Regions from separate parts of the Homo sapiens genome. Here regions 2, 3, 4, 5, 6 and 7 are each linked to region 1. The links are contacts of gene promoters, found by promoter capture Hi-C in blood cells and fetal thymus (Javierre and others, 2016). All regions are on one chromosome and are shown on one strand. Each heading gives the region's core, a stretch centred on a gene start or on the middle of the fragment in contact. The rest is flanking DNA. Distances are from core to core; before and after follow the strand shown. Region 1 holds the start of RAB24 (RAB24, member RAS oncogene family). Region 2 has its middle 2.4 kb from the start of ZNF346. Region 3 overlaps TMED9 (transmembrane p24 trafficking protein 9). Region 4 overlaps UIMC1 (ubiquitin interaction motif containing 1). Region 5 overlaps UIMC1 (ubiquitin interaction motif containing 1). Region 6 overlaps UIMC1 (ubiquitin interaction motif containing 1). Region 7 overlaps HK3 (hexokinase 3).

Evidence for each region. The method cuts DNA at HindIII sites, captures the fragments that hold promoters and counts their contacts. A CHiCAGO score of 5 or more calls a contact.
Region 2: a fragment that was not itself captured here is called in contact with the fragment with the promoter of RAB24 in region 1 in 1 of 17 cell types (M1 macrophages); the score reaches 6.6 in M1 macrophages.
Region 3: a fragment that was not itself captured here is called in contact with the fragment with the promoter of RAB24 in region 1 in 4 of 17 cell types (monocytes, activated CD4 T cells, neutrophils and 1 more); the score reaches 6.4 in monocytes.
Region 4: a fragment that was not itself captured here is called in contact with the fragment with the promoter of RAB24 in region 1 in 1 of 17 cell types (monocytes); the score reaches 5.2 in monocytes.
Region 5: a contact is called between a fragment that was not itself captured here and the fragment with the promoter of RAB24 in region 1, in 1 of 17 cell types (monocytes). The highest score is 5.0, in monocytes.
Region 6: a contact is called between a fragment that was not itself captured here and the fragment with the promoter of RAB24 in region 1, in 1 of 17 cell types (monocytes). The highest score is 5.6, in monocytes.
Region 7: a contact is called between a fragment that was not itself captured here and the fragment with the promoter of RAB24 in region 1, in 1 of 17 cell types (monocytes). The highest score is 5.7, in monocytes.

The regions. Positions count from the first base shown.
Region 1 is chr5:177,301,238-177,304,968 of GRCh38, reverse strand. It overlaps RAB24 (RAB24, member RAS oncogene family), which reads left to right and starts at 1,250. Exons shown (of 8, transcript NM_001031677.4): 1 at 1,250-1,797; 2 at 1,892-1,960; 3 at 2,139-2,217; 4 at 2,325-2,392; 5 at 2,473-2,572; 6 at 2,791-2,841; 7 at 2,982-3,044; 8 at 3,162-3,731. The coding sequence starts at 1,681. The coding sequence ends at 3,226. It overlaps PRELID1 (PRELI domain containing 1), which reads right to left and starts at 1,170. Exons shown (of 5, transcript NM_013237.4): 1 at 892-1,170; 2 at 119-344. The coding sequence starts at 983. RefSeq lists enhancers at 40-109, 120-189, 340-399, 420-469, 580-679 and 3 more and silencers at 910-1,049, 1,160-1,239, 1,290-1,359. The HindIII fragment of the contact is 8,255 bases long and covers 381-3,731 here.
Region 2 is chr5:177,018,494-177,022,153 of GRCh38, reverse strand. It overlaps a transcript of UIMC1 not described here. Among named protein-coding and RNA genes, the nearest start is that of ZNF346, 2.4 kb to the left of the region's middle. The HindIII fragment of the contact is 917 bases long and covers 1,254-2,170 here.
Region 3 is chr5:177,593,268-177,595,767 of GRCh38, reverse strand. TMED9 (transmembrane p24 trafficking protein 9) reads right to left here. Exons shown (of 5, transcript NM_017510.6): 3 at 1,993-2,118; 4 at 1,483-1,629; 5 at 1-501. The coding sequence ends at 352. Among named protein-coding and RNA genes, the nearest start is that of TMED9, 2.3 kb to the right of the region's middle. RefSeq lists an enhancer at 1,161-2,360. The HindIII fragment of the contact is 1,776 bases long and covers 363-2,138 here.
Region 4 is chr5:176,936,685-176,940,618 of GRCh38, reverse strand. All of the region lies in intron 10 of UIMC1 (ubiquitin interaction motif containing 1), which reads left to right. Among named protein-coding and RNA genes, the nearest start is that of HK3, 39 kb to the right of the region's middle. The HindIII fragment of the contact is 1,499 bases long and covers 1,693-3,191 here.
Region 5 is chr5:176,953,455-176,957,639 of GRCh38, reverse strand. UIMC1 (ubiquitin interaction motif containing 1) reads left to right here. Exons shown (of 15, transcript NM_001199298.2): 8 at 1,605-1,681. Among named protein-coding and RNA genes, the nearest start is that of UIMC1, 51 kb to the left of the region's middle. The HindIII fragment of the contact is 1,706 bases long and covers 1,634-3,339 here.
Region 6 is chr5:176,917,811-176,921,767 of GRCh38, reverse strand. All of the region lies in intron 10 of UIMC1 (ubiquitin interaction motif containing 1), which reads left to right. Among named protein-coding and RNA genes, the nearest start is that of HK3, 20 kb to the right of the region's middle. The HindIII fragment of the contact is 1,245 bases long and covers 899-2,143 here.
Region 7 is chr5:176,888,514-176,892,157 of GRCh38, reverse strand. It overlaps HK3 (hexokinase 3), which reads left to right. Exons shown (of 19, transcript NM_002115.3): 3 at 608-770; 4 at 967-1,121; 5 at 1,217-1,336; 6 at 1,428-1,523; 7 at 2,414-2,513; 8 at 2,594-2,777; 9 at 3,294-3,449; 10 at 3,593-3,644. Among named protein-coding and RNA genes, the nearest start is that of HK3, 9.0 kb to the left of the region's middle. The HindIII fragment of the contact is 6,946 bases long and covers 1-3,644 here.

The sequences.
Region 1 (3,731 bases), core at 1-2,500:
CCTGCCTCCGGCCACAAAAGCTGCCTTATGGCTCTCTAGCCACATGTATCTGAGGAGCTCTCTATCTCGGGGGGAGGGGAGAGGGGGAGGTGCAGAATCACAACAGGAGGTGTCTCACCATCAGCCGGGCGTGGTTGATGTTCCAGGTGAAGGTAGTCATGGTCTGATTCTGTGGGTCCACAATAGAGTCCTCCAGGACGTACACCGAGTGAGCAACATTGGCAGGAAATAGTCGCTCGGCCCAGCGTGGCATCCTGTTGGTCTTGGTCAGGAGTCGCCGGGACAGCAGTTTCTGGTCAGGGGTCACCTCCCGGTGTACTATGTCTTCCGTCAAGACATGTTTGCTGCAGGTGTCAGGGTGAAGGTGACCCTCAGAAGCTTGCCCCTAAGAGACTGCCCGAGGGGATTCCCATTTGGAGGCTCCGGGCCTAGAGAGGCCACGCCTTCCCGTAACCTTGCAGGGTGGTATGTGCTATGGTTCAAACCAGAGTTAAGGGCCCATCCCAGGGCAAATTCCCACTCCCGCCATCTGACTGACCTGGATTCCTGCCTTCTAGCAGGAATGGACCTCATGATTTATTGCACCCCAGGAAAGCGCCACGGGCAGAGAAATAGGATTTCCAACTCCAAGATCCCTCCCAACTCCCATACTGCCGCCTCTTCTTGTCTCACCACACTGAGAAAAGAATCTTACACTAAGGTCTCAAGTAAACCACCACCCAGGCCCAACCTCCCTTCAGGACCTTGCAGGCCTGGCCTGGCCGCTTCCCCGATAAGGTCTACCTAGGATTCGATATCGAGTCCTTCCTGGTCCCAGTACTTGGGGGTTACCCATAATTCGATCTCCAGATAGCGAGATGGCGCGGTTTTGCTCTTCCAAATACCACGTACCTATAGGGATTCGGGTACCGCTGCCAGAAGGCGGCGAACACTTGGTCCCAGGAACTCCGGAGCACGCTCTGGCCCAGGAAATACTTCACCATCGTCCCGGCCGAAGCGGGCTCAGCACCCGCGCAGCATCAGGGGTGCGGAGCCTGGGAGGCACGCGAGGGCCGGGCCGGGCCGGGGCTCGGCGCACACCCGCCGCCAGGCTCGTAGCTCAGTCACCACCGCACCGCGCCCAAGCAGCTGCCGCCGCCGCCGCCGCCGCCATGAGTTGTCCGGCCGCGCGCCACTTCCGGCGCAGCCACACAGTAGCCACCGCTTCCGGCGCCCGCGCCACGTGACCTTGCGGCCCCGCCCCCTCGCCCTCTAGCCCCCTCCCGCGGGAGTCGCGGCGCTGCGGGTAGGAGCCGGGTTGCGGGAGACCCCAGGTTCGGTTGGGATTCCCAGCCAGAACGGAGCTTAAGCCGGGCAGGCGAGCGAATGACGGAGTAGCGAGCTGCACGGCGGCGTGCTGCGCTGTTGAGGACGCTGTCCCGCGCGCTCCCAGGCCGCCCCGAGGCTTGGGGTCTTCGAAGGATAATCGGCGCCCGGGGCCGAACAGCGGGGGCACACGGGGCGCTGCCGAAGTGCAAGGCCACGGCCAGAGCTCGAGCCCGACGCGCTGTCTGGAGTCGTAGGTTGGCGCCGTTTGGGGTCGGGGTCTGAGGCTTGGGCGCTGCCTGGGCCGAGCGGAGATCGGGGTTTGCCTCCCGTCCCCGCTCAGGACCCTGACGTGGCTGAAGCGGCCCCGGGAGCATGAGCGGGCAGCGCGTGGACGTCAAGGTGGTGATGCTGGGCAAGGAGTACGTGGGCAAGACTAGCCTGGTGGAGCGCTACGTGCACGACCGCTTTCTGGTGGGGCCTTATCAGAACGTGAGTGCATCCGGAGGGGCCAGGCACGGTGGGCGGGGGAGTGGGGGGCCGGTAATCTGCACCTATGGCCCCGATCTCTTCCCTCTCGTTGCAGACCATCGGGGCCGCCTTCGTGGCCAAGGTGATGTCGGTCGGAGACCGGACTGTGACATTAGGTATTTGGGTAAGTCCCCCGGCCATCTATTCTTGGGAGACTCATTCCTGAGGAGGTGTAGGTCCTGCCTATTACTGGTTGATTTGTGGCCTCACAGACCCATTTCTCATAGACCCGTTTCCTTATCTGGAAAATAGCGGGGTCTGGAGAACGTGGCCTTAAGTTTGACTCAGGCCTTACTCTTTAGGACACAGCAGGCTCTGAGCGCTATGAGGCCATGAGTAGAATCTACTATCGGGGTGCCAAGGCTGCCATCGTCTGCTATGGTAAGGGGGGGGGGGGTTTGGGCTGTCTCACAAGAAAAGATGGGTGCCAGGCTAGCCAGAGAACAGCCCTTGACCACTTGGTTGTCTCCTGCATGCCGCACACCAAGACCTCACAGACAGCAGCAGCTTTGAGCGAGCAAAGTTCTGGGTGAAGGAACTGCGCAGCCTAGAGGAGGTAGGTGAACAGACCTCACTAGAACACTAGGGGCTGGGGTTTTGTTGGCCTGTGGAGGTGACCCTTGTCTTCTGCCTCAGGGCTGCCAAATCTACTTATGTGGCACCAAGAGTGACCTGCTGGAAGAAGACCGGAGGCGTCGACGTGTGGACTTCCACGACGTCCAGGACTATGCAGACAGTAGCTGCTCCTCAGCCCTTTGGGGGGTGGGGGTGTGTGGCTGTCTGGGTGGATCAAAGAAAATAGGGACTGCCTTGGCTGCCAGGGCAAGGTGCTCTAGGAGGTCTTCCTGGCCTCCTTGAACTGTGGGGTCCAGGAGACTCCCTGAACTGCTAGCCCTCCCTTTTGTCTGTTTATCTAATTCTCAGGTATGAGGCTTTAGTCACTTCTCTTTACAGATATCAAAGCTCAGCTCTTTGAAACATCCAGCAAGACAGGCCAGAGTGTGGGTGAGTGCTGTGCTGGAGCCTCACAGCAGGAACATGCAGGGGCACCAGAGGAAGCTGAATAGGGCACAGAGGGCTGGGTCACTGGGAGATCCCAGGGCTACTGGCATTGGGCCCTCGCTGATCATCATTTTTCCTGCCAGACGAGCTCTTCCAGAAAGTGGCAGAGGATTACGTCAGTGTGGCTGCCTTCCAGGTGATGACAGGTGTGTGCTTCCCCAGCCTTTATGGAGACTTACTCTAGGCCCACAGCATCTAGCCCCTTTCCTGAGTTACCTGATCCCAACAGAATGGTGCTGAGCTGCCACCTCTCTTTTTGACAGAGGACAAGGGCGTGGATCTGGGCCAGAAGCCAAACCCCTACTTCTACAGCTGTTGTCATCACTGAGTCAGCACTCACCTGGCCTGGGGGAATTAAAGGAATTCCCCGTAAGGGCTGGACCCAGCTCCTTTCTGGGCTTGGGTAGTCAAATGTCTGAGCTACCCCAGGTCCTCATGTCAGCAGAGTGGCGCCTGCCTGTGCTGGCCCATGGAACGGAGACAGCATTGGGCTGACTGTGGGCATGAGGAGGGATAAGGCTGATTTGGACCCCAGGCTTCTGCCCTGGACAGCACTTGTGTCTGCAGATTATTTAAGTGGCTTTTGATCTGTAAATAAAATCAGTGCACTGTGCATCACACCCAGCCCCTTTCCCTGCTGTGTGGATTAGGTGTCAAGACACCTAGTTCTTCCTGGGGCCACCCGGCTGGCCTCACTGCTTATATTAAGGCTCCTCCCAACTCTCATTTTCCTTTGGAAAACAAGACTTTTTTCCCCATGGTTACCGCTGAGATACTGGGGCTGTAGTAGTATAAAAGCTCACAGTTCCTTCTGAGTGCTGAAAAGAGTGCAT
Region 2 (3,660 bases), core at 463-2,962, 280 kb after region 1:
TTTTATCTTCCAACCCCAGAGCTGCTCCTTCCCGTGTCTTTGGGAGCCACCATCTCTTGCCTAGGTTATTGTAGTAGCAACCTCACTGGCATTCCCAGCACAGCAGTTCCAGGAATCCTCTTATGACAAGTCAGATCATGACGCTTAGGTTCTCAAATCCTCCAACAGCTTCCCATCTCACTCTTAGTAAAAGCCAAAGTCCGGCCAGGCGCGGTGGCTCACGCCTGTAATCCCAGCACTTTGGGAGGCTAAGGGGGGGCGGATCACCTGAGGTCCGGAGTTCGAGACCAGCCTGACCAACATGGAGAAACCCCGTCTCTACTAAAAATACAAAATTAGACGGGTGTGGTGGCACATGCCTGTAATCCCATCTACTCGGAGGCTGAGCCAGGAGAATGGCTTGAACCCGGGAGGCAGAGGTTGCTGTGAGCCGAGCTGGCGCCATTGCACCCCAGCCTGGGCAACAAGAGCGAAACTCCGACTAAAAAAAAAAAAAGCCAAAGTCCTTACTTCGACCAACAAGGCCCTGTACAATCTGACTTCCCTTAACCTCCCTGATCCTGATGTGTTACTCAGTCCCCAACTCCTTAATTCCTGTCCCAGTTATCCAGGCCTCCTGGGGTGAATTTCTCTCATATATCTTCATGGCTCAGTCTCCCACTTCCTTCTCTGGCTACTCTATCTAAAATACCTTGTCTGGCTATCCCATCTAAAATGTTACTTTTCCACACACACTTCATGTCCTTCTTTCCTGCTTTATTTCTTTTATATTTTACCTTTTATCTTGCTTATTGTCTGTCTCCCGACTAGAAGGCAAGCCCCAGGAAGGCAGGGATTTTTGTCTCTTTTCTTTTCTTTCTTTTTTTAAATTGTTTTTGAGGCAGAGTTTTGCTCTGTCGCCAGGTTGGAGTGCAGTGACGCGATCTCGGCTCACTGCAGCTTCCGTCTCCCGGGTTCAAGCAATTCTCCAGCCTCAGCCTCCTGAGTAGCTGGGATTACAGGCACATGCCACGGCACCCAGCTAATTTTTATATTTTTGGTAGAGACGGGGTTTCACTATGTTAGCTAGGCTGATCTCAAACTCCTGATCTCATAATCTGCCTGCCTCGGGCTCCCAAAATGCTGAGATTACAGGCACATGCCACCTTGCGTAGCCTTTTGTCTCTTGTCATTGCACCTGAATCTCCAGCACTTTGAAATAGAACCTGGACCCTCCTAGGTATATACAAAACATTTGTTTAATGAATGAAGCTTTTAATATTACTAGCTTATTTCAACCTCATTTTTTCAAATACTTATGGAGAATTTACTATGAGCTAGATGATATTTTGAGCATGGAAATATAGTGGTGAACAAGACAGGGAAGCTGTAGTAAAGTATTTTTTATTGTAGTGGAGGAGAGTACAATAAGAAAGTTAACAGTAGGCCTGGCGCAGTGGCTCATGCCTGTAATCCAGCACTTTGGGAGGCCGAGGCAGGTGGATCACGAGGTCAGAAGATCAAGACCATCCTGGCTAACATGGTGAAACTCCGTTTCTACTAAAAATACAAAAAAATTAGCCGGGCGTGGTGGCGGGCGCCTGTAGTCCCAGCTACTCGGGAGGCTGAGGCAGGAGAATGGTGTGAACCCAGCAGGCGGAGCTTGCAGTGAGCCGAGATCGTGCCACTGCACTCCATCCTGGGCAACAGAGCGAGACTCCATCTCAAAAACAAAAAAAGTTAACAATAATAAGTGCTAAGGAGAAGATAAAACAGGATTGCATCTCAGGTGAATGATGTGTTAGGAACATTAATCAGGGTGGCATCAGGAGAAGCCTCTGGGAAAATGACATTTGAGCTAAGACCTGATTAATGAGAAGGCGTAGCCATGCAAAGAGCTGGGCAAGAGTGTTCTAGCAGAGAGAACAGCAGGTACAAAGGCCCTGAGGCAGGAGAGAGCATGATGTGTTGGAGGAACAGGAAAAACGACAGCATGGCTGGAGCCCAGTGAACAAGGAGGAAAGTAATATCAGAGGAGGCCAAAGAGAGACAGATATGAATTATTCTTGCTTGAGATCATATAGCTCATTGGTGTAATTTAGTCATTTATACTACAAGTATTTCCTTATTTATACTACAAATATTGAGCACCAGCACTATGTCAGGCCTCAGGCCCTAGAGCTTCCAAGCTTCCAATACAGTAGGTGACTGATGTTTGGCCAGTGTTTTACAATTTTTTTTTTTTTATAGACGGAGTCTCTGTTGCCCAGGCTGGAGTGCAGTGGCACCATCTCAGTTCACTGCAACCTCCACCTCCTGGGTTCAAGCAATTCTCCTGCCTCAGCCTCCCGAGTAGCTGGGATTACAGACATCCATCACTATACCCAGCTATGTTTTCTATTTTTAGTAGAGACGGGGTTTCATCTTGTTGGCCAGGCTGGTCTTGAACTCCTGGCCTCAGGTGATCTGCCCGCCTTGGCCTCCTAAAGTGCTGGGATTACAGGCATGAGCTACCACACCCAGCCTACAATTTTTTTTTTTTTTTTTCCGAGACAGGGTCTCACTAGTGCAGTGGTATGATCATAGCTCACTGTAACCTTGAACTCCCACACTCAAGTGATCCTCCAGCCTCAGCCTCCTGAGTAGCAAGGACTACAAGTGGACACCAACATGCCCAGCTAATTAAAAAAAATTTTTTTTTTGTAGAGACAGGGTTTCCCTATATTGCCCAGGCTGGTCTCAAACTCCTGAGCTCAAGCGATCCTCCTGCCTCAGCCTCCCAAAGTGCTGGGATTCCTGGTGTGAACCACACACCCAGCCCAGGGCAGTGCTTTACAGTTTGCAAAGCACCTACATTATAGCATTTAATCCTCAGGGTGGTTTCTGTGAGGGATTTCTTCATAAGTGATGATAAAGAAACAGACTAGGAAAGGTAAAGGTTTTGTGAAGATCACACAGCTAGTTAGGTACGAGCCCATGCTTGAACACTGGTCCTTAGATTGCAAATCTATGTCCTTTTGCCAAAACCAGATGACCAGCCTAAAAGTCAGTGACTGCACATTATTTATTCTCTTTTTATTTATTTATTTACTTTTAGAGACGGGGTCTCACTATGTTAGCCAGGATGGTCACAAACTACTTATTTATCTTAAGAGTTCTAGTTACTTACACTTGCATATAGCATAAGTTATTCAGGGATAATCCAAGGGATACAGGGGATTTTTGTCGAAGTCGCAGAACCCACAAGGATATTTTTAATACTATGTAACAAATACTGGGAGTGGAGTATATAAGTTGCTTTGCATATTATTGGAAAACAACCTCCAATCCAATTACATGCTCAAAATAATGTCCATTTATTCTCCAATGAGTGCTGTCAGGGTTCATCCCCTGTGCCATGGAGGCAGAGTCCTGAGCTACCCTGCTGAGGGTCTGAACAGCCTTCATTGTCACCAGTTTTCTATTTTGTCTTTGTGTAAGTGCTTCCAGGAATGGCCCAGGCCTGGACTCCTTGCTGGGACCTGGCAGTGCAGGTGATGCCTTATATTTGTTGGGCTGGCTTTTTATTTCCTCCTTGTGGAAAATGAGAACCATTTTCCAACACATCCTACTGTGTATTGTTGCCATGGGAGATGAACAATCCCAGGGAAATGACTTTGCTAAGGGACGGGAACTGGCTAC
Region 3 (2,500 bases), core at 1-2,500, 290 kb before region 1:
GACAGAAGACTGGCTTGCCTGCCCATTCCCCTCCCCCCACCCCCAACAGCAGCCTCACATCCCTGATCAGTAACACTGTGATTCTGAGGTGCCAAGAGGAGGGGCTTTACCAGCCCTTGGGTGATTACTACCAAACGGCCCAGAGGCCAGAGAGAGAGGGCAGGAATTTGCCCCACTACCTGCTCAGTATTAGCCAAGCTGCTGCCTTCAGCTTGTGCCTGTGGGTGCCTCCAGCCCCTCTCCCTTCCAGAACAGGTATGGCTGGAAACCAGTCCTCCTGACAGAAGAAGTCAGTTCCAGGAGGTCCTTTCTCCCCCAGCCTGGGAGGATGGGTTGTGACGCCTGGGACAGCTACACAAGCTTCTTGGCTTCAAAGAAGCTCTTGAGGTGCCGCATCTGCCAGACACCGATGGCCACGAGGATGAGGGTCTGCAGAATGGACCACCACAGCACCCGCTGGTTGGTGCTCTCACTGGTCTGCCGGAAGCGCTCCTCTCGCCACTGCAGGGGAATATAAGGTGAGCCTGAGTTGGCTGGGGCTGCTAGAACTGCTGATTCCCAGACCAAGAGGATGCCCAAGGTCAGCCAGCTTTGCCCAGGTTCCAGCCAAGTGCCTGCAAAGTGTCACTCTACCTGGGGACTATCTTTACCCTCAGGCAACCTACTCATTCTCCCAAGTCTGTTTCTTCATCTGTCAGGCATAGCCCTCACCTAGTCCTGCCCTGGTGCCTGGGAGAGAGGTAAGGTAGTTGTGGTATCACCCCACGAGGCAGAGCTGTCCTGGAGCACACAGGAGTGGACTTGCTCTAAGCCCTCTGCCTAGGTCTCCCACACTGCTCCTTGAAGATGGTGGGCACAGGCTGTAAACTGGCAGGCTGGGGGCTGGATCTGGCCTTTAGGTATGTTTTGTTGGCCTCACACAGTGCACAGTCTTTTGTCAACATTTAAAACACAGGTAATTTGTGCAGCAGCAATAGAAAAAAATAAAAAATAAATTAAAATGTTCGCATAAAAATCCTATTTCCTCTTGAAAAAATGGAACATCTGTAAAGCCAGGGCTGGTATTTCTGCAAGGAAGCCCCCAGGTGACACTGAACAGTGGCTGTGCTTGTTTAGATGGGTCACTGCCCTACTAGTCCTTAAGGTCACAGATTCACTTATGGTAATCTCTGGTTCCTGGTCACCGGTAAGTTTGAGACCCTGGTCCTGGGAGCATGTGGACCCACTGAAACAGCACCCAAGGTGTTGGTATCAAATGCTACTGTGCCATTCTGTGTGTAACTGTGATTTAGGGCAATGACAGCCTCTTACGAGTCTGTATCCTCAATTACAAGGTCGAGTTAGTAATACCCGCCCCACGACCTACAATGCAGTGCAGGTAAGTCCCTTGGGGGTCTCAGAATGAATTTAATGTGAAATTCCTGGCTGAGCCAGTGGGCAGCTTCTAGGGAGAAGCCCACTGCTCCCGGCCCAGTCACTCACCCGCTGGTAGTTCTGCTCTTTCTGGATCTGCTCCACTTGTTCCACCAGCTGTCGCACTCGTAGCTGCAACTCACTCAACTTGTCTTTAGCAGCAATTTCTGCATAGTCATTGGCATGTTCACCTACCTGGATGTCCAGGTGAACTCTCTGAGGACAGACAAAGGAGATAAGGGAAATCTGGTAGCCCTGCTCCATCTTCCTGCCAGAGACTGACAGCTCATCCCCGACTTTCCTTCATCTGTTCATTTAGCCAACAGACTGGGCCCTCTTCAGTGTCTTAGCCCCATGAGGCTCTGGGCACACAAGCAAGTATTAAGCCTGGGCTGGTGCTCTGAGTGAGGCATGTACAAAGAGCTCAGTCACTGTGTCCTGGACATCCAGTGGAAACCCAGTGTTCTTAGGAGACACAAAATCTGACATAATCCTCTCACACCCACAGCACCACCAGTCCCCCAGTCCTCACCAAAGGATGAAGGCTGAAACCTGCAAGTCTCACATGGGCCCACTTACCAGCATGCCTCCAGCAAAGAGGGAGAACTTGGTGGAATTGGAGTGAAGACAGATCTGGTGCTCACCAGGGGTATGGGAAGTGAAAGTGAACCTGCCCTCGGAGCCATACTGCCGGGCCAGGATGACCTGGAGGAAGGTAACAAGCTTCAGTCAGTATTATGGTAGGGATGGGAATGGAGGAAAACAGTGCTTAAGGCTCTAAGTACTGCAAAAGTTGACAGGCACAGCCTTTCGCACCTCACAACACTGAAAGATTCAAAGCTGCTCAGCAGCTGTTGCCATATGCTTGTGTGAGAACTCTCTGGGGCAGGTGTTTAGACTCTGAGAGTCTGACATTAGGGTGGCAAGTGACTGACTGCTCTTGGGAAGGGCTTTCCTTTATAGCTTATGCCCTTTCAACTTTTTTGGTGTGAGTTGTTTTTTGGGGGGTTCTTTTTTGTTTTTGTTTTTGAGACAGAGTCTCACTCTGTCGTCCTGGCTGGAGTGCAGTGATGCTATCTCAGCTCAC
Region 4 (3,934 bases), core at 1,193-3,692, 370 kb after region 1:
TTTAATTTGACAAAGCTCTTTAGTCTGATTGTTTTTTTTTTAGCTGAGTGTTCCAGTGACTAAAAGAATTCTGGGGCTGAGCATTTCAAAGGAAAGAGACTATCTTGTCTGTCTTACTAAGCACTTACACAGCTGGTATTGGGTATCTGAGTCAATGACTTATTCAATACAACATCAAGGTCCAGAAATAAATGAGTTTGAGAAACTGAATGCCCCATTGAGCTCTAGGAATATATGACCTCCTTCAGGTCAGAATGATCAGGTAAGGAGTAGTATAGGATAGCTTCTACTGACATCTCCCTTACTGAATTCCACTAGTTGGTGCTAAAATAGGAAGCTTTGGCATTTATAACTGTCAGATATCGTTTAATTACAAGATAATTGCTGTTAAGCCGGTCTTCCTTACTGGAGTGTGGTGAGAGAACTCAAACTCACATCCCCAAATCCTTGTGGTTGAAATTGATTCAGGCTTGTTCCTGAATTTTCTCAAACCAATTTTCAGACTTATGCCACTAGAACCAGGCCATTTAGGTGGGCAAAATAGACTGAGTCTTATCATCATCATCATCCATTCAGGGAGGACATTTCACGTTCTCCTTGTTCTGCTGTGTCCAGGATCAGTGACCCCGTCTAATGCTGTTCAGTTGGATTTACACTCTGGATATCGCAGACTTTCAGACATGATAGATGTAAATGTGCTTTTTGATATAATAGAAAGTCCCTGTATTCTCGGCATCATATGTCTTTATAGCTTTGATGCGAATACCCCAGACCTCCATGTGAAGATGTCTGCTATATCCTGAATGACAGTCACACTTTCTTTTTCATAGGGAAATTTGTTATAAAAACTAGTTTAGAAGACAAATTTAGAATATAGTCACGTGTTGCTCAGTGATGGGGATGTGTTCTGAGAAATGTGTCATTAAGTGATTTTGTTGTGCAAACATCATAGAGTGAGTATACTTACACAAACCTTGATGGTGTAGTCTACTACACACCTAGGCTATAAGGTATAGCCTATTGATCTTGGGCTACAAACCTGTACAGTGTGTTACTGTACCGAACACTGTAGTCACTTGTAACACAATGGTATTTGTGTATCTAAACACATAGAAACACAGAAAAGGTATAGTAAAAATATGGTATTATAATTTTATGGCACCCCCATCATATAGATGGTCCGTTGTTGGCTGAAATGTCTTTTTGTGGCACATGACTGTACTACATCCTTCTTTTCAATGCCAATGTGTCTACCTAGAGCCAGAAGTTTGCTTCTTTTCTATCACCTATTACTTCATATTTACCTTTAATTCATCCAGATATTTTGGAGCTTTTCTTTTTTTTTCTTTTTTTTTTTTTTTTGAGACAGGATCTCACTCTGTCACCCAGGCTGGATTACAGTGATACAATTACGGCTCATTGCAACCTCTGCCTCCTGGGCTCCAGTGATTCTCCAACCTCAGCCTCATGAGTAGCTGGGACTATGGGCACACACCACCCCGCCTGGCTAGTTTTTTATATTTTCTTTTGTAGAGAAAGGGTCTCACCATGTTGCCCAGGCTGGTCTTGAACTCCTGGGCCCAAGCAGGCATCCCGCCTTGGCCTCCTAAAGTGTTGGGATTACAGGTGTGAGCCACCTTGCCTGGCATTGCACTTTTTTTTTTTTTAAATGGTGCTAGGCCTTATGAAGCTTACTAAAGAAGTTTTAAGATTTCTCTCTTCAAGGAGCTTGCATTATCAATGGTGAAATAAGCATTTCCCCAAGAAATTAATTAAAAGATGACACAAGTGAATAATTGTGTACCCAAGTAAATGTCCCTGACAATGGGAGAAAGGAGAGCTGCAGTGAATAAGGATGAGATCCCAGAAAGAGTGGGCTTAGCCTTGGCTTTGCAGGCTGGTTAGGTCTGGATAAACCCATAGCAAGGTAGAGGGCCCTTTCCCCTCCTATGGGTTTAGATAAGATAAGAAGCAAGGGAAATGGCCACTAAACAATAGCTTCGTCTTAATCTTCCTAAGAGAGCTCTCTGTTGATTTTTCAGGCCCTATGAGAGGGAGCAGGGTGCCCTCACTGGAACCATTCTACTCTCTGCATGTTCCTCTACTTTCCTGGGAACAGAGCTTGGGGGTATAGGTGGGTTGGGGAAGTAGAGGAATTATGCAGAGCACCTGCTAGTGTACTTGGTGTACAATAGGTACTCAGTACGTTTGATCTCTTTACTTGGTTTCCCCACCAGCTTGCCTGCCCCATCTTCCTTGCCAGAGACAGAAGTTAGTGATTGTGCTGGTTCCTCTTAGCTTTATATGACTGGAGACAGAGGCCAGGCTCCCAACCTAGTTTTAAAATCTTTTGTAAAAGGAAGCCTTTTTTTTTTTTTACTGTGGAAGGAAAGAAGTAATTTTCCCTTTTTTTTTTTTTTTTTTTTTTTGAGACAGGGTCTTACTCTGTAGCCCAGGCTGGAGGGCAGTGGTGGAATCATGGCTCACTGCAGCCTCAACCTCCCAGGCTCAAGTGATCCTTCTGCCTCAGCCTCCCGAGTAGCTGGGACCACAGGTGCATGCCATCACGCCTGGCTAATTTTTTATTTTTTGTAGAGATGGAGTCTTTTTATGCTGCTTAGGCTGGTCTTGAACTCCTGGGCTCAAGTGATTCTCCTGCGTTGGCCTCCCAAAGTGCTGGGATTATAGGCCTAGGCCACCATGCCTGGCAAGTTACTTTTCTTGAAGACACATAAGCCAAGCTGGGAGACCATTAGCCCAATGCTTAAGGGGTGGAATAAGAGAGGACGTAACCTCCCAGTATTAAGTATCTAGCTTTTCACTCCTTCCTGTCTTCCCCTGAAGCGGATCCTAGACGTGCTTGGTTTGGCTGTGTAAAAGAAATAGCAATTAGAATCATTTACATAAAGTGTCTACTATTTATGCCTACTTACCGTGCAGCACAATAACAATTATGCATATCATTAAATATATGTCTGACTAACTTTGCTGTAAGTTTTGATTATAATACTACGCACTGGTTAAGTTGGCTCAGTCTACTCAGTTTTTTGCTCAATGACGTTGTCTATTCAGAACTATGAAAAATTAGAGGGAATGCTTTTGTTTCTTTTTTTATTTTTATTTTTTGAGACAGAGTCTTGCTCTGTCGCCCAGGCTGGAGTGCAGTGGCACGATCTCGGCTCCTGCAAGCTTTGCCTCCAGGTTCATGCCATTCTCCTGTCTCAGTCTCCCGAGTAGCTGGGACTACAGGCGCCTGCTACCACGCTCGGCTAATTTTTTGTATTTTTAGCAGAGATGGGGTTTCACCATGTTAGCCAGGATGGTCTCGATCTCCTGACTCATGATCTGCCCACCTCGGCCTCCCTAAGTGCTGAGATTACAGGCGTGAGCCACCGCACCTGGCCGAGGGAATGCTCTTTAAAGGTAATGTTTGAGGGGAGAAGATTGACTACGTTGATCTAGACTAGAACAAATGCACGTTGCCTTTGCATTTACTTTCTGGAAAATGTATCTAAGGCCAATTGTGTTAGACACCTAGGGAGAATAAAAGCCCCCATTTACTCATTCAATACGTATTTATTGTATACCTACTATATAACAGATACAGTGAGCAGAATATACAATTAACAGAATATAAGTCCCTGTTCTCATGGAGCTTATTTTCTAGTAGTGGGAGGCAGACAAGAAAACAGTAAATATACAATATTTCAAGTGGTGATAAGTACTTTAGAGAAAAAAGTAAAGCAGAGGGAGAGGGGAATAGGGAATACCGAGGTCTCAGGAGGTAGCAATATAAAATAGGTGATCAGGGAAGGTCTCCTTGAGAAGATGACATTTGAACAGGGGCCTAGAGTAAGTGAGGGAATAAACTAAGAAGATTGTGAGGTGGGGAGAGTGCTACAGGTAGAAGGAACAATAAATGCAAAAACCCTGA
Region 5 (4,185 bases), core at 1,237-3,736, 350 kb after region 1:
AGACTTAACATCCTCTTCAAAGTCTTCATATTATTCAGGCCACACAGGACCTGTGTCACTCTCACTGTCTGTCCTGTGCCACTTTTAATCCGTTTGTGCCTCCTATCTCCTGTAAAGGATGGTATTTGCATTACCTCCTCCATTGTTCTTGCTGATTGATTGATGGGCTTACCTTCTAAGTCTTCTTACTTTAATAATAGATAGCAGTTGATTAATTATAAACTGCACTATTAACTGGATCATGCTTCCAGTTACTTTCCACTTGCCCTTTTTATCTAGTAGTTGAGTTTTGAGACTTTCTCAAGAGCTTAGTTTTGAACTGCATGACTGTTCTCCCATATGAGAGTTGAAGCCCACTTGCCATTTGCTGTAGTCAAGGTGGTGGTCTTTCTTAGGCTTCTGGTTGATAGTACTTGGTATTCCTTCCTGGGCTAAAGAATATGGCTTTGGTTTGATTTTCCTGCTGTTAAGACAGTTTTGGAAGTGGTTTTAACAGAGTATGCCTTTACTCCCTATAGGCCTCTCTGCTTTATTGTGGTGAGCCTTGTGCAGAGCAGATGTAGGTTTTAATAAATGATTATACACTTTGTCACCAGGAGAGAGTTGGAATCGCAGGCAATGTGGTTTGACTTCAAATTGATTAGCCCATTTTATAAATGTCAGAAAATTGTTTTGTGATGGACCCTTTGAATAGAGCACTAATGTTACATGCAGAGTAAACTGTCTGGCTGGGGTTTATAACAAATGCTATGAGATGTTTTATTTAGAGATAAATCACTTGTGGTTTTCTATCAGGATTTAGTTATTTATCATGAGTTCAGTTGTAGCTATTCTGTCTTCTCTGTGGTTCTTGGTTGATGTGAGGATTTTTGTTTTCAAGCATCCTCTTGCATACTTGATCAAACTAATCGTAAAGCCCTGTGAAGCATGAGGGGGCTAGCTCAGATGCTCAGATCAGCCATGTATTCCTATGTCAGGAAGAGATTGCACTCCATGAGCAGTCAGGGAAAACCAGAAGGTTGGATGAAGGAAGCCATTCATAATTAAGTTTTTGTTAGAAAAGAGATTCAATTTATGTGGGCAGATTTTTGCTGTAGGGCAGTTTGGAATTGTTTTTTATTTTTGTTGCATGGAAAGCAACATCTTGAGATAAAGAGGAGATTTAACTGCAAAAGGAGGAGAAAGTGTGTTGTCAGAAGAATCTCTGTGTCTTCTCTTGTCAGTTTACAAATCTCTAGCCTTCAGAAGGCTGAGATGGAGGCTATAAAACACCTTTGACATCCTTATATTGGAGTGGAGTTTTTGCCTTCTCTGATATTCACAGACAGTTCTCACCCTTCAACCTTCCTTTGTGAAAACTCCAAAAGGGAATTTGTTTTCATTCAGTGATTTCACTGGAACTGAAGTTGTAAGCATATTTATTTTCCATATTTCTGGTCTGGAGTTTTCAGTACTGATTCCTTGCTTTCCTATTGTGCTTTTGTGGTATTAGGCAGCAAGTATCTGTGATTACCTGTGGCTTTGTGAGTGACTCACCATTGCTTTTGGCTCTATGTTCTGATTTATTTTACTGGGAATTCATTTGGGATTTGGTTCTCTTTCAGTGTTGCTGCTTTGACCAGTAAGAGAAGCTTAGTCCTTATGCCAGAGAGTTCTGCAGAAGAAATCACTGTTTGTCCTGGTAAGTACCCCACTGTGATTTTACTGAATTTCTGATACCTATTTACCTTTTCATGCCTATTAATTTTCCTCTGACTCTTCAAACCTACTCTCTGGAGGTTTGTATGTAATTGATACGTGTATGTACATGTCTCAACACTCGTATGCGTATACACATATAGGTGTTTTTAATGGCCATTGGCTTTTATTCTCAATCTTTTCTCTCCTTAGGGGTAATTTAGTTTTGAAATTAACATGACTTTTTTTGTCTTCTTGATTGTTTACAGGCCTCATCAGAGATGGCAGCAAAGCATCAGGAATAGCATTTGCTTAACTGTACATTCAGAGCCTTTTGTTATTTAATTTGTTTAAATTATTTTAAATTAAATTGTTTTAAATTATTTTGTCAGCCAGCCTGGAGTGCGGTGGTGCAATCATAGCTCACTGCAGCCTTGAACTTCGGGGCTTAAGTTCTCCCTCCTTGGCCTCCCAAAGTGCTAGGATTACAGATGTGAGCCACTGTGCCTGGACTTCACAGCCTTTTAGTAGTTAGTTTTTATATTGCCATTTGTTGGGGTCTTACTGCATAGGAGGTTCAGAAATTGAGTTTTGTGCATGTTCTGTCATTATTTTTAATCTTAGACCTAAGATGCTTAACCTCGTTAAGTGCTTTAGTTTGCTTTTTGTTAATTGTAAAAATTAAAAGATAGGTACTTTGTTTTAGGTAGAAGAGATGCTCATTCAAAGTTGCACATGGATAGATTTAGATATACAAAATAATGTAAAATGAACTAAGATACTTACCATCTAAGAAACTCCTGAATCATTGTATAATATGAAGCATTATTTTGTGATATGAACCACTACTTTCTAAGGAATTTGTTTTAGACTATATTTTCCTTTCTGGCTTTTCTGAAAAGATCATTAGCCTCATTCCTGTGAGATTGAGGGACTTCCTACTGATGTTTAACTTTGAACAGCAAGTATACAGATGTTGCCCTAAGTCACATCTGGTTTTCCCTCAGGTCTCGTATAGCCTATAAGGATTAGAGATAATCATAGTTTTCTTATTTTGGTTTCCTTCAATGTTTTTCCACAGAGACTCAAACTTAGTTTGCATGTAATCTAGGAAAGACCTATAAATATTTTTAAACATCTGGCAGTCTATCATAAAGGTCTTTATTTATTTTAAAAATCGGACTATGTTGGCTTTTTTCTTTTTTTTTTTTTTTTGAGACAGAGTTTTGCCCAGGCTGGAGTGCAGTGGCGCAGTCATGGCTCGCTGACTGTAACCTTGAACTCCTTGGCTCAAATGATCCTCACTCCTCAGCCTCCCGAGTAGCTAGGACTACAGGCATGTGCCACCACACCTAACTAATTTTAAAAATTATTATTATTATTTTTTTTTAGTAGAGACGAGGTCTTGGTGTGTTTCCCAGGCTGACCTTAAACTCCTGAGCTCAAGTAATCCTCCCGCTTTGGCTTCCTAAAGTGCTGGGGATTAGGCATGAACCATCGTGCTCAGCCTATGTTGGTTTTTATTGAAAGTGGCTCCTTAATTCATTTGAAATGTGTTTGGATTACTGCCTAACAATACCCACTAAGAGACTACACTACCGAGTGCTCAGATTTTGGCAGGAGCACTCAAGAATACTGTGCTACCTTTGTGAAAAGAAAGCTTTCCCCCTCTGTCTGGGACTACTGACTTCCTAGAAGGAAATCACTCAGTCTGTTTAGGATGATGGCGTGTGACATCACCATGGGATCTTGCAGGAGGAACCTGCAAATATATTGATCTTGAAAGGCCTAGTTAATGAGAGGGAAAAGCAGGCCCTTCATACTGAGGTTAGATAGCTTTTATGATCATGACTTGCTGTCATTAGCCTGCTAATTAAGTCCAACTGTTTGCTGACATAAACCACTTCTAAATGAGATTGCAAAAGGTATTCATTACATTAATGTTCCTTTTGCTAAGAAAGTATAACTGCTTCACCATGAAGCCAAACTCCTGGGTTTCTTTTTAAATATATAATTTAGAAGTTATATATATAAATTATCTGAAAAAATTTGTTCCAAATGGGTGAAACACATATTTAGTGTAGTAGACTGTTACCTGTTTACTTTTGTTTCATATTTCTGACAGTTCAGGAGTCTAATATTTAAGATTACAATATCTTTTTAGTGTTACTTAGTTGAAGAAGCAGGATTATAGCCTTATGCCTACATTTTGCATGCTTCTAGCATTGCTTTTTTCTGAGAAGCTAATGCCCTCTTAGTTGGACATTTCAGCCATTCACAGAAAGCATAATTGAAGACTTTTTATTATTGCAGTAATCTAAGCAGTGAATGGTTCTTACTTTTAAATATGCTGAATATCTTTTTGAAAATACCTTTAGGGAAAGTTGACAGGATTTTGAAGTTTATGTCCTGTAAGCCTTTTTCCAATAAGGTGTGTGTGTGTGTGTGTGTGTGTGTGTGTGTGTGTATGTGTCCAGTTTTCAAAAAAATTTGTGATGTATTAAAATA
Region 6 (3,957 bases), core at 272-2,771, 380 kb after region 1:
GAGGAGACTAAGCAGGGGTGGAGGGGAGTGGCTGTTGCATTATTCCAGGGAAGATCTGATGTTTGCTTTGACCATAGAGGTAGCTGTGAGGTAAAGAAGTTGTCAGATTTGGGAATGTTTTGAAGGTTGAACCTACAGGATTTATTGGAGTGTGAGAGAACAAGAAAGACTAAGGTGAAATCAAGGTTTTGCCCCAAGCAACTGGGTTAATGATGACTTCGTTGTTTGAGAGCGGGAACACTGGGGCAGGAACAGGTTTGGAGGAAGAAATTAAGAATTTGGTTTTGTACATAATTTTAAGATGCCCAGTGAATAACCAAATGAAGATGTTGAGCAGACAGCAGGATATACAAGTCTAGAAATAACCTTATGGGAAATATTACTGCATATTTGTATGCTGATGGAATGATCTAAAAAAAGAGGGAAAAATTGATGTTTCAGGAGAGATGATGGCAGGAGGGGAATCCTTAATTAAGCAAGAAGCGTTCAGATTCAGGATCAAATGGAAAAGTGAGCCTTAGATAGCCGTGTGGGCAATTCATTCTGTGCAATAGGAGGGAAGGCAGAGGATATGGGTACAGATGCAGATAGACTAATACTTTTGGTGGTGGAAGAGTGTAGAAGTTCTCTCAAGTACTACTTTTTTCTCATCAAAAAAGTCTGAAAGGTTGGTTTAACATTAGAAAATCAGTTAATATACTGTATCATAGAACAAAGGACAAAAACCACACGATATCTAAATGGACACAGAAAAAGCATTTGAGAGAATTCAATACTCCTTCATGACAATAAAATACTCAGCAAACTAGGAATAGACAGGAACTTCCTCAGCCTGATAGAGGGCGTCTATGAAAAACTCACAGCTAATATCATACTTAATGGTGAAAGACTGAAAGCTTTCCCCAAAATCAGAAACAAGACAAGGATGTTCATTCTTGCCACTTCCATTCAACGTGGTAAAGGAGGTTCTAGCCAGGACAGTTAGGAAAGAGATGAAATAAAAGCCATTCAGGTTGGAAACGAAGAAGTAAACTACTCTATCAGATGACATCTTTTATATAGAAAATCCTAGAGAATCCACTGAAATAAAACAAGCCTTTAGAACTAATAAACGAGTTTAGCAAGTTTGCAGGATACAAGGTCAATATAGAAAATGAACTGTATTTTTGTACACTAGCAGTGAACAATCTGAAAGTGGATTTAAGAAAACAGTTACATTTAATATACTATCAAAAATAATAAAATACTTAGGAATATGTTTGACAAAAGAAATAAAAAACTTCTCTGAGAATTATAAAACATTGTTGAAAGAAATTAAATAAGACCTAAATAAATGGAATGGTATTTCCTGTTCATGGTTTAGAATACTTAATGTTGTGAAGATGGCAGTATTCACCAAGTTGATCTACAGATTTCAAATCCTTTTCAAAATCCCAGCTAGGCTGGGCATGGTGGCTCACGCCTGTAATCCCAGCACTTTGGGAGGCTGAGGTGGGCGGATCACCTGAGGTCAGGAGTTCGAGACTAGCCTTACCAATGTGGAGAAACTCCGTCTCTACTAAAAATACAAAAAAAAAAATTAGCCAGGCATGGTGGTGCATGCCTGTAATCCCAGCTACTCAGGAGGCTGAGGCAGGAGAATCACTTGAACCCAGGAGGCGGAGGTTGTGGTGTGCCAAGATCGCACCATTGCACTCCAGCCTGGGCAACAAGAGCGAAACTCCTTCTCAAAAAAACAAACAAGAAAACCCCACAAAAATCCCAGCTAACTTTTTTTTGTAAATTGACAAGTTGGTCCCAAAATTCATACCAAAATACAAGGGGCACAGAATAGAACAGTCTTGAAAAAGAACGAAGTTAAGAGTTCATACTTTCCAATTTTACAACTTACTAATTAAGACATAGAGGTAGGCATTACAGTTCAGTGGAATAGAATTGAGGGTCCAGAAGTAAAACCATACATTTGTGGGCAATTGATTTTTGAGAAGAATGTCAAGACAATTCAGTGGGGGAAAACAAGGCAGTCTTCTCAATATGTAGTGCTGGGACAACTGAATATCCACTTGCAAAACCATGAAGTTGGACCACTTGTTTATACTACGTATGAAAATAGATCAAAGACCTAAATGTAAGTCATAAAGCTTTTATAGGCAGCTACAGTGGTACACACTGGTAAGTCCCATCTACTTGGGAGGCTGAGGCAGGAGGATCCTTAGAGTCCCACCTGGGCAACACAGTTGACACCTTGTCTCAGCGAGTCAGGGGAACTATCTTAGGGATAAAACTTCACAACCTTAGATTTGGCAGTGGATTCCTAGATATAATACCACAAGCACAAACAACAAAAGAAAAAGATAAATTGGACTTTATCAAAATTTAAAACTTCTGTGCATCAAAGGACACTATCAAGAAAGTGAAAAGACAACCTACAGAATAGGAGAAAATATTTGCAAATCATATGTATGTTAAGGGTTTAGTATCCAGAATATATAAAGAACTCTCTTTCTGTTGCCCAGGCTGGAGTGCAGTAGTGGAACCTTGGCTCGCTGCAGCCTCTGCCTCTCCACCTCAAGCAATCCTCCCACCTCAGCCTCCCAGGTACTTGCCATTGAATCATAGACTTTAAATGGGTGGATTATATGGTACATGAATATATCTCAGTGAAGTTATATTTAAATAAAAAAGAATAGTGATACAGGAATCGGAATGGATATTAGAGTTTTGAGAATAGCAGAGAAGATGTGAAATAGTACCTGGGAGGATGGAAGAATGAACCGACTAGGAAAATATGTCAAGATTGCTAGCAGTAGTGAGGGACCACTTAAGATTTTGATCTTAAATAAAAAGTGAGGCCAGTCAGCACGTTGTATGTGTTTTTGTTCCTGTCACATTCAGCAGATAGGGACACCTAATAAGTAGGAGGGCTGTATTTAACCAAAGTCGGATTGCGCAAGTAAGTACAGTAGAAAGAAGTTGAGGGAATATTCAAGGGGAGTGTTAATATGATAACTATGTAAACTAAGGCAAGAAGGAATGCGAAGATATGACAGGGTAATCGTGAAAAGATGATAGTATAGGATTAGATGTCCTAGTGGGGCTGAAGGGTGATTGGTGTAAGAACATTAGAGAGGGTGAGTTGGGAAAGATAGGTGATGGTGAACAGAGAATGGACACCTGAAATTGAGCTCATCATTAATGATAGGCTCAGCTAGAGTTCTTCATTAGAACCATGGAAGTCAGAAAATGAATTCATTGTTTGCTTACTTCTCCCAGTTATGATACATAGCTGGTACCACTTTAGATGCAGGGGACAGAAATTGACTTATAACATTTGGTGGGTGCCTTAGGGCATTAGGCTTACTCCTCTCTTGGAACCCCACTGGAGAAAGGCTGAGATGGTAGGAGCCATAGGAATTAATAAACAAGAGGTCAGGGAACTGAGAGGCTGGAGTACTGGATGGATCATATCTTGGGTTGAAGTTACAAAAACTGCAACTTCATATGGTTCAGTCTAATATGTAGATATTGAAATCACCAAGAATGGTGGCAAATGGGGATGAGAATCCAGTTGAAGAGGTATGCCAGAGGAGGCTTGGATTTCTTTTGGTGCTCAAGGTAGACAGAATTGAGGCATAATAGGATTGGTCCTGGTTAATCTCATGAAAGAACAGCACTATCCAATGGGAACTTGTGCAATGATAGAAGTGCTCTATAGCTGTGCTGTCAAATATGGTAGCCACATATGGCTATTGAGCATTTGAAATGTGGCTCATGGGACTGAGGAATTCAATTTTTTTTATTATTTTTTGAGACAGAGTTTTGCTGTTGTTGCCCAGACTGGAGTGCAATGACATGATCTCGGCTTACTACTGCCTCTGCCTTCCAGGTTCAAGCAATTCTCCTGCCTCAGCCTCCGAAGTAGCTGAGGTTATAGGCATGCGCCACCATACCCAGCTA
Region 7 (3,644 bases), core at 1,112-3,611, 410 kb after region 1:
CATTTGTTGCTTCTTGGGTGGTTATGTGTGTGCGGTGCTTAGAATACAGCTGGGTGCATAGTGAGGGCTGGAGCAATGTTTTGGGAAGGATGACTGACTGAAAAAAGGACCATCCTCTGCAGTGTGGTCTCCAAATGCTCTCGTGCTGGGCTTTTTCAGGCTTCAGAGTCTGAGAGTGGATTAGGAGAGGGAAACACTTGAAGTTTGTTCGTGCATTTGTTTATTCTCTTGTTCGTTCAACAACAACTCACTGAGAGACTCTTGCTGTGGGTCCTGGGGAGCCAGAGAGCAATCATTAGTGGTATGGCAGGAAGAAGGTCTTGCCAAACCCTGAATTCAAAGAAGAGGAGGGGTAGGGTAGAGGATGTAAGAAATTGAGAAGGAGCCGTGAGGTAATGGGGCAGGAGGAGGAAGAAGGTGGGTTCTCTTTCCAGGACAGAGCCTTCTGAGGATGCCAGAGCTGGGTGCAGGCTGTTGGCAAGAGAGTCAGGGTGTATGAAGAGCCGAGGAGTGGGCTGGGCAGGGCAGGCCTCTGCCTTGTTTGGAGGTGGGGAGTCTGGCCAGCCCAATGGTGCTCCTTCCCAGATGTTGGCCTGTTTCTCCCCAGGTGCAGGAGTGCCTGCAGCAGTTCAAGGTGACAAGGGCACAGCTACAGCAGATCCAAGCCAGCCTCTTGGGTTCCATGGAGCAGGCGCTGAGGGGACAGGCCAGCCCTGCCCCTGCGGTCCGGATGCTGCCTACATACGTGGGGTCCACCCCACATGGCACTGGTGGGTATCATAGATTGAGATGCGTGGCCAGGCCTGGAAGAGGGTACTGATCTAGGGGAGGGAAACGTTCCTTATTCCTGTCCCCCATCTCTATGGCCCCTTGACCAGACTTTGCAGGCCTTAGGAATTTGGGAAGTGGGCAGAGGGCTCTGGTCTTGCCAGCTGCATGGCTTTCTGTGACCTGCTTGCCCTCCAGAGCAAGGAGACTTCGTGGTGCTGGAGCTGGGGGCCACAGGGGCCTCACTGCGTGTTTTGTGGGTGACTCTAACTGGCATTGAGGGGCATAGGGTGGAGCCCAGAAGCCAGGAGTTTGTGATCCCCCAAGAGGTGATGCTGGGTGCTGGCCAGCAGGTAAGCACTCACTGCCCAGCCTCTGGGGTCTGGGGGCCTGGCTGGGTGGCTAGGGCTCAGATGGGCAAGGCTGAGCCCCCCCACTTCTCCTGCAGCTCTTTGACTTTGCTGCCCACTGCCTGTCTGAGTTCCTGGATGCGCAGCCTGTGAACAAACAGGGTCTGCAGCTTGGCTTCAGCTTCTCTTTCCCTTGTCACCAGACGGGCTTGGACAGGGTGAGGTGGAGTGGACATGGGACGCTGGGTAGAGGGTGGCTGCAGCCCCATGAAGGCCGTCAGAGGAGTAACCCAGCTTCTCTACCTCCAGAGCACCCTCATTTCCTGGACCAAAGGTTTTAGGTGCAGTGGTGTGGAAGGCCAGGATGTGGTCCAGCTGCTGAGAGATGCCATTCGGAGGCAGGGGGTGAGTGGAGGGAGGGGTGACAGGAGGGCTGCCCATGTTGGCCTGGGCCTGGCACACATGCGTTGGGTCTGGGCTTCTGAGAGAGTTGCTTTCCTCTTCTCTTCATGTCCTCCATCCAGTTTAACCTCCATCCAGTTTAACCTATACATGGTACATGTTGCTACCATTCCCATTGTATAGGTTAAAAAACACTGAGGCTAAGAAAGGTCAAATAAACATTCAGGACCTGGGGCAAAAAAACATGAATAGACTTTGACCTCCTCCTCAAGGTTTTCACAGTCTAGATGGGGAAGCATTCTAATAAAAGATTGTCCGTGTCAAGGAGGAGTGCGTGGACAACTCTGGGAGCACTACGGAGGAAGCACTGGCTCTTTGATCAGGGGCTTGAAGGAGGAGTTTGCCTCCCTTCAAGTCAGGCTGGGGCTGGGGCGGATGATCTAGTCTCAGAGAAGGCCACACACAAGAGTCTGGATGCTGGACAAAGGCTGATCCGTCTGGGCTAACCTCTTGTGGTGAGAAGCCAGTGCTGGGAGGAACAGGCTTGGGGAGCCAGGCAGGATGACAGTGAGGCTGGCAAGGCGCAGAGTTCAAGGAGGTGCTCAGTCTCAGGAAACTCATCCTGGTCCTGGGAGATGGTGAGGGTGGACGTCACTGTGACCTGGGGGCGCAAGTTGGGGGTTAGGGAGGAGCTGAGGGTGGGATTGGAGGAAAAGTTCCTATAAGGTGGGAGCCCAGAGCATCTGTGGCACAAATGTGTGTGGCATGCAGACATGTGTTTCATGGACTCTATGTATCTCCTTCAAAGCCAGGGCCCCAGCCCTGCCCATCCCCTGGATTCCCTCCTCTGGCCACTCAGGCCAGCCTTGACCTCTGCCCTCTTCATCATCTAGGCCTACAACATCGACGTGGTTGCTGTGGTGAACGACACAGTGGGCACCATGATGGGCTGTGAGCCGGGGGTCAGGCCGTGTGAGGTTGGGCTAGTTGTAGGTGAGCCATGGACCATTTGTGATGACAGGTGGAGGGTGTGCTGCCTGGCTAGCAGGCCTTGACAGGGTTGTCTCTGCCAGACACGGGCACCAACGCGTGTTACATGGAGGAGGCACGGCATGTGGCAGTGCTGGACGAAGACCGGGGCCGCGTCTGCGTCAGCGTCGAGTGGGGCTCCTTCAGCGATGATGGGGCGCTGGGACCAGTGCTGACCACCTTCGACCATACCCTGGACCATGAGTCCCTGAATCCTGGTGCTCAGAGGTGACCTGGCAGGGGGCCCTGACCTTTGGTTCCAGGCCCTGTCTATGACTGCTCTGCTCCCAACCCCTTCTGTCCCTGTTCTCAGGCCCTTAGGCCCCTCCCTGTCACTCTGAGGGTCTCCAGGGAGCAACCTGGGGGCCCTGGCCAGGTTCAAAGAAGGAAGGGCCCAAAGTTCTAGAATCCAGAATTGTCAACCCTTGATCTTCCCTGTTCCTGACTCTGGCCTGCCCTGACAGTTTGGGGGTTGAGGGCTGGAAGTGGTTGAGCAAACTGCTCTCTGCCTTCCTTTGGGTCCTTCTTGTTCTCCAGGAGGCTTCTGAATGTAACCTATGTCAGAGGGGGCAGTGGGGTCTGGGCATACACCCACCTGTCCTCTGGGAGGCTATTCGTTGCTTCTGGAGTCTCCAGTTTGGGAGCCCCAAAGAAAAGAATCCTTCTTTGGGAACTCTTGGAGGTAGGGCCAGGTGGACTGAGGGCTTAGAAAAGGCTTCCTCCAGCCACCCTTCCCCCCTGCAGGTTTGAGAAGATGATCGGAGGCCTGTACCTGGGTGAGCTGGTGCGGCTGGTGCTGGCTCACTTGGCCCGGTGTGGGGTCCTCTTTGGTGGCTGCACCTCCCCTGCCCTGCTGAGCCAAGGCAGCATCCTCCTGGAACACGTGGCTGAGATGGAGGAGTGAGTCGGGGAGATGGTGGTTTAGTGGGGGATTCTTGGCTTGGAGGAAGGGGATGATACTCTGTTCCCAAGGTAGCCATGGGGCTTTAGTGGGATGGGGAGCTTCTGGGCTGAGCCCCAAACCACTTCCCTTTCCCCTCCAGCCCCTCTACTGGGGCAGCCCGTGTCCATGCTATCCTGCAGGACTTGGGCCTG